3 separate regions of the Homo sapiens genome follow, and regions 2 and 3 are each linked to region 1. Evidence: promoter capture Hi-C in 16 types of primary human blood cells and fetal thymus (Javierre and others, 2016). All regions are on one chromosome and are shown on one strand. The core of a region is centred on a gene start or on the middle of the fragment in contact, and the rest is flanking DNA. Distances in the headings are between cores, read along the strand shown. Region 1 holds the start of GPR34 (G protein-coupled receptor 34). Region 2 holds the start of MAOA (monoamine oxidase A). Region 3 holds the start of CXorf38 (chromosome X open reading frame 38).

The links. The method cuts DNA at HindIII sites, captures the fragments that hold promoters and counts their contacts. A CHiCAGO score of 5 or more calls a contact.
Region 2: a contact is called between the fragment with the promoter of MAOA here and the fragment with the promoter of GPR34 in region 1, in 6 of 17 cell types (naive CD8 T cells, total CD4 T cells, monocytes and 3 more). The highest score is 9.8, in naive CD8 T cells.
Region 3: a contact is called between the fragment with the promoter of CXorf38 here and the fragment with the promoter of GPR34 in region 1, in 1 of 17 cell types (monocytes). The highest score is 6.2, in monocytes.

The regions. Positions count from the first base shown.
Region 1 is chrX:41,687,458-41,690,694 of GRCh38, reverse strand. GPR34 (G protein-coupled receptor 34) reads right to left here and starts at 1,722. Exons shown (of 3, transcript NM_001097579.2): 1 at 1,611-1,722; 2 at 860-952. All of the region lies in intron 5 of CASK (calcium/calmodulin dependent serine protein kinase), which reads left to right. The HindIII fragment of the contact is 2,059 bases long and covers 1,653-3,237 here.
Region 2 is chrX:43,655,004-43,658,240 of GRCh38, reverse strand. MAOA (monoamine oxidase A) reads right to left here and starts at 1,942. Exons shown (of 15, transcript NM_000240.4): 1 at 1,827-1,942. The coding sequence starts at 1,899. RefSeq lists an enhancer at 3,049-3,108 and a silencer at 3,040-3,237. The HindIII fragment of the contact is 10,667 bases long and covers 1-3,237 here.
Region 3 is chrX:40,646,112-40,649,348 of GRCh38, reverse strand. It overlaps CXorf38 (chromosome X open reading frame 38), which reads left to right and starts at 1,788. Exons shown (of 7, transcript NM_144970.3): 1 at 1,788-2,044; 2 at 2,208-2,342. The coding sequence starts at 1,829. MED14 (mediator complex subunit 14) reads left to right here. Exons shown (of 31, transcript NM_004229.4): 31 at 1-1,044. RefSeq lists silencers at 1,572-1,752, 1,588-1,887, 2,008-2,157 and an enhancer at 2,408-2,607. The HindIII fragment of the contact is 2,915 bases long and covers 1-2,522 here.

The DNA of each region.
Region 1 (3,237 bases), core at 473-2,972:
CTCAAAAAAAAAGAACATAAAAAAAAAAAAAATTGGCCGGGAGCAGTGGTTCATGCCTGTAATCCCAGCACTTTGGGAGGCCGAGGCAGGCAAATCACTGGAGTCCAGGAATTCGAGACCAGCCTGGCCAACATAGCGAAACCCTGCCTCTACTAAAAAATACCAAAAAAAAAAAAAAAAATTAGCAGGGCGTGGTGGCACGCACCTGTAGTCCCAGCTACTCCGGAGGCTGAGGCTGGAGAATTGCTTGAACCCGGGAGACAGAGGCTGCAGTGAGCTGTGTTCATGCCACTGTACTCTAGCCTGGGCAACAGAGCGAGAGTCTGTCTCAAAAAAAAATTTTTTTTTTAATTAAAAATCACAATTACATTCTGTTTTAAACTTGGTGACTGTTTTTTTTTCTCCTTTGAAGTTGGTTAGTACATTACAATGTCATTCACTATATAAGGCTATTTACTGATATTTTTTAAACTACCTGTTTGATATGTTAAGAATTGCTTGTGAAGACAAGAAACAAACCACTGTGTTTACATAGGGGATTAATTTCCCAGTGGGCATTACTTGTGACCCATGTGCTATATTGAAGTGGTCACAATAGTTTTGTAATAGTAGATAGTGTTTTTTAAATGTTGTTACTTGGCAAATCCTATTCACAAGTTCAAAAACCTAGTATTAGTGCATTGTACCCCCGCACCACCACCTACTCCTGCAGTTTTTTTTCAACTGGCTCATGTAGGAGTACTGGACCCAGAGGGCAGGACCCAACAGATTCCACTGTGACTCCAGATGAGCAGAAGCTTTTAAAATGCAGTTTGGGTATGTTTGTGAAAATATCACATTGCTATGTTGAAATACATACCTATTTGGTAATAGTCGCAACCTTTCACCGTTTTTAGTTTGACTTGATAATGACTGAATCTATTCAGGGCATGCTTCAAAATTGCATTAACTGCTGTATAAAAAATGAAAATTGAAAACATATTACTTTGGAAATAATACTATTAATAGTGTGTTAGGTTTTGTTACAAATTTAACTGTGTCCCTAGAAACACATTTTAAAAAATTATTATTTGAACTAAAGCATATTTTGCTTTCTCTCTTATCTAATATTCACCTTATTTACTTCTGAAACACCAAACTTAAATGTTATATGGTCTGGTAATACTATAAAATAGTAATAATATAATAAAGAAAAGACAGTAATTTAAAATAGGGAGACAGCATAACTTAAAGTCAATAAGTTATAATTTATAATACATTAGAAATAAAATGTATTGCATATGAAAATAACTTTTAATTCATGCAAGTAGATCTGCAAAATCTTGATGGCAGTATCCAAATGCAGTATCAACAATGTGACTATATTGACAGTAGGAGCTTAAATACCTTGAATGTCTTAAAGTACTTAAAGTAACTAAAAAGACAGTCTCATTTGAAATCAAGGCAGAGGTGTCATTCAAGCAATTTACTCAGTAGTTCTAAAAGCGAATAACTGCTGACATTAGAGTAGCCTTATCACCATGAATCACGTTTCACTTTGAATGTTCAGATAATCAAATTTTAGCTGAAATAAAGGTTCATTTATGTAGCCGAAATCAAGAAATACTCACAGTTCAGGTTCGCCTGAAGTAAAAGGAGCAGAACCCCAAGCTTCCCTAGACACTGAGACTCGTCTTGGTTGTGTCAGCTGGGCTCTTCCATCCGGTCGTGGTGCAATTGGTTGGGGTTCTCTTCTTTTTTATGTTCATATGTGGTGGTAGGGTTTTTTTTTTCCCCCTCTTTTTTTTTTTCTTTTTTCGGTATGACAACTCTCAGATTCCTTTTGAAAATATTAAAAAGCCCTACTACCATGGAACAACTTTAAGCTCAACCAACACTGAACTTTAGGAAATTATTTATATCTTCTTTATGAATACCTTCCAACTTGACAATTGTGGAATGTTTTCCTCCCCCCGCTCAAAATTTAAAAGTTTTATAAATTCTAAGCAGAAATATGTATTTTCTGTGTTTTGTAAGAAATGATACATAATATGCTATATGGACTTTCAAAGCACAAGCACTGAATTTCTGTTTCTTAAGTTTTCATCTGTACATTATTTTAGCATATTTTCATGTATTCCTTTAAGACCTTTGCTAAAACAAACTTGTATTATTAGGACTAGATGAGATTTCTGATGGTGTTCTCCCCTTTTGATCACTATGATAAACTCTCCCGAGCAAATTAAAACATCACCTGTATTTTAAGCGAAATAATGATGGGATTCTGCAGTCTTGGTTTTGATCCTAGTCCAAAATTTAACCACTATCTGTCCATCTATGTAACTGCTGGCCCTGCAGTTTAGTGTTATTTCCCTTTTTTTGTTGTCATTTGAAATGAAGAAGTTAGTTTTTATTCTCCCCATAATTGTTATCCTGCAGCTTGTTTGCACTAAATATTTGACTCATTGGGCTGTATCTAACATTCTAATTATTTCTGGGTACACTCTTCTGAACATTATATTCTCCAGAGCTTTTTGTTTGTTATAAATATGATTTATGGGACAGGATATTTTTAAATTAATAGAATAAAAATGTTTTGTAGCTCTTACTTCCCCTTAGAACCTCTGAGAAGGAAGGTGGTTGCTGTATTAGTCCTGCAATATTGTTGTATTGGCAGGATTTTATTTTATTGTGGTACAATATGTAACATTAAATTTACCATCTTAACTTTTTTTTTTTTTTTTTTTTTTGAGACGGAGTTTCGCTCTTGTTGCCCAGGCGACAAGAGATTGTACAATGGCACAATCTCGGCTCACTGCAGCCTCCACCTCCCAGGTTCAAGCGATTCTCCTGCCTCAGCCTCCCAAGTAGCTGGGATTACAGACATGCACCACCATGCCCGGCTAATTTTGTATTTTTAATAGAGACAGGGTTTTGCCATGTTGGCCAGGCTAGTTTCAAACTCCTGACCTCAGGTGGTCCACCCACCTCAGCCTCCCAAAGTGCTGGGATTACAGGTGTGAGCCATTGCGCCCAGCCCCATCTTAACCATTTTTAAGTATACAATTCAATAGTGTTAAGTATATTCACATTGTTGTGCAACAGTTTCTAGAAGTTTTTCATCGTGCAAAACTAAAACTCTTCACCACTAAACGATTTCTCTCCTCTCCCCCTGCCCTTGACAATCATGATTCTTTATGTTTCATTGATTTGGACTACTTTGGACACTTCATATGAGTGGAATCACACAGTATTTGT
Region 2 (3,237 bases), core at 693-3,192, 2.0 Mb before region 1:
ATCCCAGAAAGAACTCTGAATTGCAGAATACAGATGGTATGGAGATGGGAGAGGACCCAGAACCCCTAGTCAATGTATATAACACATTGTCATCATATTTATTTTCCAGTGATCTACAACCATATTGCTTTTAGGAGGCTTGCCTAGTGGGACCAGATTTTGGGAAACAGCAGTCCACTTCATTGCAGGTACTCAACAAGTGTTTTTTGAATGAATAAATAAATACATAAATAAATAAAGAGAAACAAGCTGAAATACTCCTTTTTCTTACTCTCCACCAGGAGCTGCTTTCCTCTGATGCTCCAACATACATGTATGTTTTTGCTGGTACTGGCTGGAACTGGCAAAGCAACAGTTCATGCCAATCTCTTCTCTTGGCCTGTTCAGGATAAACAATGTTGGGTTCAGATAAAGCTATCTCTACCCAACATTAATTTGTAGCATGTTCAGAGTCTCCTCGAAAGATTTATATATAAAAATGGCTACTGTGGGGCCACTCTACTTACTCCCTCCCATCAGCTTTCTCTTTCTGAATCAGATCCTGCAGGGATAACTCAGAAATTATTAACACCTAGTAGGGGGAGGATAGGTCAGTGTGGTATTCTAGCCAGGGATGAAAGGCAACAAAATTCCTAATTTTCAAACATTTTACCAATGATGGCAACATAGGCGACAATATATCAATCATGATGAGGCTTCCAGGAAGATATTGGAAAGCCTCATGCACCACTCACTTGGTTAGCCACAAATCCAAGCCAGGACCAGGGGCACCCTGGCCCACCAACTGGCTCATCAGAAGACAAGATTCAGGTGGTGGGAGCTCTTAGTGAAAGGAGGAAGGAGGATACAACAGGGCACTCAGCCCCTGCTTCATAAAGGGATTCTCTTTGGACAATAAATGTCCTACACCTTCCTGCAAGTTCATATATATATATACACACACACAGTTCATATATATATATATATAAACACAGTTCATATATATATATATAAACACAGTTCATATATATATATAAACACAGTTCATATATATATATAAACACAGTTCATATATATATATAAACACAGTTCATATATATATATAAACACAGTTCATATATATATATAAACACAGTTCATACACACACACACACACACACACACACACACACACACAGGAATAGTTTAAGAGCTCACCCCCTCTTCTCCTCTTTTTTTTTTTAACCTTTTCTTAAAGGAGTCTACCTCCTTCCTCTTCACCTACTAAATTTTCTACGGAAAATAGAGAAGAGCAGGACTGGAATAACACTACTGCTCCCTCAATACTACAGAAATCTGTATCCTGATGTTCTGTTTAGGGCAAAGGATATGAAATCAGTGAGGCAAAGCAGCCACCTCAGGAATTAGTACTGCAGGTCTTAAATGGGAGAAAATCGTTCAGCCACTTACAAGCTAGGTGATTCGACCTCAAGAGAGTTATTGAAACTCCCCAGACCTCAGTTTCTTGGTTTTGCAAAACGGGGATGAATTTAGTTCCCACCTCACAGGACTGTTGAGGACTGAGAAAATCCACGTAAAGTGCTAAATACAACTGCACAGCAAGAGCTAATTAAATATTAGTATTTAATAGTAGTAGTAGTAAAATTATTGTGTCTGCCTCCCCCAGTCACACCACCAGCAAAACTGGCACAACCCCCACTCCTACCTCGCAGGATATGGGGCCAAGCCATGGCTACACTACACTCTCGCATGCATGAGAGACCCCCAAACACCACAAGAGCTACTGTAGGTTCCCCTACCCCTCACTGGCCAGGGTCCCCCAGGCCACCGCTACGGTCCACACTGACCTGAAATGCCACCTCCGATCACGACTACGTCGAACATGTGGCCCGCGATACTCGCCTTCTCTTGATTCTCCATGCTTTGGCTGACACGCTCCTGGGTCGTAGGCACAGGAGTGGGGACGGCAAAGGGTGGGAAGGACCCTTCTATCAACTCCCCCGGGGAGCCCGGGGGCGGAGCCGATCCTTCTTTTGATACCCGGGGGGAGCCGGGCACTGTGGGCGGGGCGAACCCTTTTGCTGATACTCCGGGAGCGCCCAGGGGCGGAGCTGATGTTTCAGCTGATACCCGGGGGGAGCTGGGCACTGAGAGCGGGGCGGACCCTTGTACTGACACTCGGCGAGAGTTATTAGGTTTAGAATGTCCTTGTGTCGGCAGCTGGAAAGGATTACTGGGTGCAGGAGGTTCTTGTATTGAACCCCGCGGAGTGTCAGGCACTGAGGTGGGGGTAGACGCCTGCCTTGACACTGGGGGGATGTTATGGGGTGCAGGAGGTGCTTGTGGCGACACTGGGGAAATGTTATTGGGTAGAGGTGGTCCTGGTACCAAACCCCAGGGGAAGCTGGACACTGAGGATGCGGCAGACCCTTGTACTGACACTCGGGGGTGTTACTGGGTGTAGGAGGTGCTTGTATTGACACTTGCGAAAGGTCATTGGGTATAGGAGGTCCCCGTACAAATATCCAAGTGTAGTCGGACACTGAGGTCAGGTTGGAATCCGGGGGCAGGGTCGGTCCTTTTACCAAACCCCGTGGGGTGCTGAACCCTGAGGAGAAGGCAGACCCTTGCAATGACTCTACGGGGGAGTTTACGGGCGGGGTAGGTCCTGTTACTAATACCCAGGGAATGCCGGTGTCCTGATTGGAGGCTGTGACGGCCCCATCGGAGGAGTTCGAGCTGGTGGTAGACTTGGGGATCCGACTGCTCGGGTTGTAAGCGCTGAAACCCCGGAGGCCACTCTTGGAGTCGGAGTCAGTACTCTCGCTAAGACCGGTAGTGCTGATTGGGGAGTGTATGCTGGAGCTCCAGGAGGCGGCCTCGGCAGTTGAGGACGTGCTCCACTGGGAACTGGCTAGCGGATCCGAGACGGACCGCCACTCAGAACGGACGCTCCATTCGGACAGGCTGTAGGAGGTGTCGTCCAAGCTGGAGTCCGGGTTCGGGACCTGGGCAGTTGTGCCCCCGGCTTCGGGCGGGCCCTCCGCCTTGCGCTCGGTGCCGGTGCCGGTACTGGTGCGGGTACTGGTGCCGGTGCCGGTACTGGTGCGGGTACTGGTGCCGGTGCCGGTACTGGTGCGGGTACTGGTGCCGGTGCCGGTGCCGCCGGGGAAGGAGGCTGAGGCGTTTGTGCTCATGTTTCTGGAGCACGCTGGGCGCTGGGGGCGGTGTTCTGCTTCCCGCAGCCCTTCTCCACGG
Region 3 (3,237 bases), core at 539-3,038, 1.0 Mb after region 1:
GTCGCTAATAACAGGAGTCGAACCTTATGTTTGAAAATTAACTGAGTGAGTTAAGTGCAAGCATAAACTAAAATTTATATGACTTTGAATTTAAGAACCACTAATAACTGTGTTCTAATTAACACAGTAATCTGTTCAGCCAAAGGATACTAACAGCCATTCTTTGGACTGTGGTTAATTTGATAACTTCAAGAAGTTATAACTTTGCTACCCTGGATTCTGATGCAATTTCAATATAAAAAGTTGTTCCTTTCATAGTTTTTCCCCCCAAAAGAAGTGCCTATTACATTTTACCTTAATGTTTATTTATCATCCAAGTGTTCTTGATATAAAATCAGTATACAGAAAATTTTAAGAGAACTTACATTCAAGGGACATAGAGGGAAAATGTTAATGTGTATTTCATTGTTTCTTGTGGAATTTTTTTTTCATTCGGTTTGAGAATGGACAGTGTGTCTAAGGATGTGATTTAAATTTACTTAGGATGGATTTAGCATTGAGGTTATTAAGACAAAGTTAGCAGAGGCCAGCCAGCACTGTGCTGCACAACTCCAGGAACTCCATGGTATGCTCACAATTTTCTGCAAGTTGCCTCCACTTCCAAGTGGCCAGTGATTTGTTAAAATACCTTGCCCAAGAATATAACTGATTGATGAAAGGGCATATTTAGGTCAATATAAAATAATAGCAAGTATTTACTGAGAGCTTACTGTGTGCTAGGCATTTTCTTAATATTTCAATGTGTATTTAATCCTCACAACAACCCAATGTGGTAGGTTATTGATATCCTCTTCTTAAAAATGAGTAAATGGAGGCCCAGAGAAATGTAATTTGCCTGAGATCAAATTAAGGTTGCTTAAGATCAAACTGCTAAGAAGGGGCAGTTTGAGTCTGAGCTAGTGCTCCTAAACACTGGACATTTTTGCTGTGAACCACAGTCGGGAAGGTTTAATGTTTAGACTCTTTCCTCAGAGGCTTTTAACTACACACAATTTTGACATGTTTTCCAAGCTCAGAAAGCTCATTAAAAACAACTAAAACTGACCTGACTTGTCACTTGGAGTTGACAATCCCAGTGCCTTCTGACCTTTGTGGCACTTCTTTGGAACTTAAATCAGACTTCCATGTGCAAGGAGCACTAATTATCATATAATCAAGAATACTAGATAATTATCGTCTAACCTTTGCTAGGTGCTTCAGGATGCCCTTATCTGGCTCAGGTGTGCAGCCTTCTAGAATCCAAGTGATGTGTTGCCCTAAACAGGCAAACGCCCCCTTCTGGGTGGTCCAGTGGCGGGGGATTTTGAGTTTTGGGTTAGCTTGGCACACCGCAGGCAGCCAGCGGTCACGTTTCACTAATACCTCAATTTGCTACAGCTGGTCTGTGGGCTTAGGAACCAGTAACTCTAGAATTGTATAATGCAAAGAACATACACGATTCAAGCAATGTGCCCTGAGCACCTTGTACATCTGGACAATAAAAAAAAGTTAAAACAGAAGTGCCCTACATTAGGAGAGGGAGTCGAATCGGATGCTGACAGGGTCTCTGTTTGGGGGACGAAGAGGGCCTAAGGGTTTCAAATAGTTAACTGCTTCCCCAAGCACCAAAGTTGTTAGACGTCAGACGTCAGACGTCACCCAAGTGGGGTGGAGCCGACGTGCCCCGGAAGTCAAGATGCCCCGCCCCGGGATCGGTGGCACCGCGCCGCGCAGGCGCAGGCGTCGCTGCCGCCGGCGCAGGCGCCGCTGCCTCGGGTACTTCCCAGGCTCCGCGCCTGCGCACTGCCGTCCGCCACGCCCCGCAACCTCCTGGTTCCAAGTGGGAGACATGGTGCTGTCGGAGCTAGCGGCGCGCCTCAACTGCGCCGAGTACAAGAACTGGGTGAAGGCGGGCCACTGCCTGTTACTGCTGCGCAGCTGCCTGCAGGGTTTCGTCGGCCGCGAGGTGCTCTCCTTCCACCGCGGCCTACTCGCCGCAGCCCCCGGCCTGGGGCCCCGCGCCGTCTGCCGCGGCGGCTCACGGTGCAGCCCTCGCGCCCGCCAGGTGAGCACCTGGCTCGGGGCCTTGACCACCGCCCCCACCCCACCCCTCCTCATCCCCGTTCCTGTCCCAGACCCAGAGCGCAAGTGTCCTGTTCCCTCCGCGATGCGGGGCCCACCGCGACGTCCCTCCCTCCTGGGCCCCTCCTCACCGCCGCCCCCTGTAGTTTCAGCCTCAGTGTCAGGTGTGCGCTGAATGGAAAAGGGAGATTTTGAGACATCATGTCAACAGAAATGGAGATGTGCACTGGGGAAACTGCCGGCCGGGCCGCTGGCCCGTGGACGCCTGGGAGGTGGCCAAGGTAAGCGCCTGAGGCGGGGACGGAAGGAGGAAGCGGCGGGTCACCCAGCACTCGGGGTGGCTATCTGGTCTTGTGGTCGCCGGGGCCTCATAAACAGATGCAGAGAGAGAGATTGATCAAGGGTCTAGGCGGTTCAGGGGTGGTATGCGGGACCCAACCCAGCTTAGTGAAGTAGAAGCTTTCTTCTACCCGTCTGCTTCCTGAGGGCATTTGAGTTTGTTACCCCTGCTTGGAAAGTTACAGGAAAGAGTTCTACAAGAGATACTGGGGCAAGATGCAGAGCGAGCATCATGAGCACAGGCAGGGAGGGAGGGAGACTCTTGTGTGGCCTGTTTGAGGGTAAGGCTCGCTGAACAGCTCATCAGCTCTTTTTTGGCTATAGGATGCCGTAAGGATGACAGAGTAAGCCAAGGGAAGTTAGGGCTAAAATAGCACCTTAAGTGCCCAGTTAAAGGCACTTTGGGTAGCTGGGAATGGGGTAGGCAGCCGGATCTGTCTTCAGATCTTGGCAATGTCACTTACTAAGTAGATCGAGTAGGAAATTTTTTTGCCCAGTAAGGGACGGAGAGGGACAGCCAGAAGTGGCTTCCTAACACAAATTGACTTTAGCAGTCAGTCTACATGCCAGTAGTTATCAGCAGGCACAGGGTGGGCACTGGAAAGGAGCAGTGCCTGGGAAGCAGATGATCTGAGTCCTGGATCAGCTGCCGTGGTGTGACACTGGGCCAGCTTGTGCTCCCCAATCTCAAAAATGAAAGGACGGCCGGGCGCAGTGGCTCACGCCTGTAATCCCAGCACTTTGGGAGGCCGAGGCGGGCGGATCATGAGGTCAGGAGATCGAGACCACGGTGAAACCCCGTCTCTACTAAAAATACAAAAAAATTAGCCGGGCGCA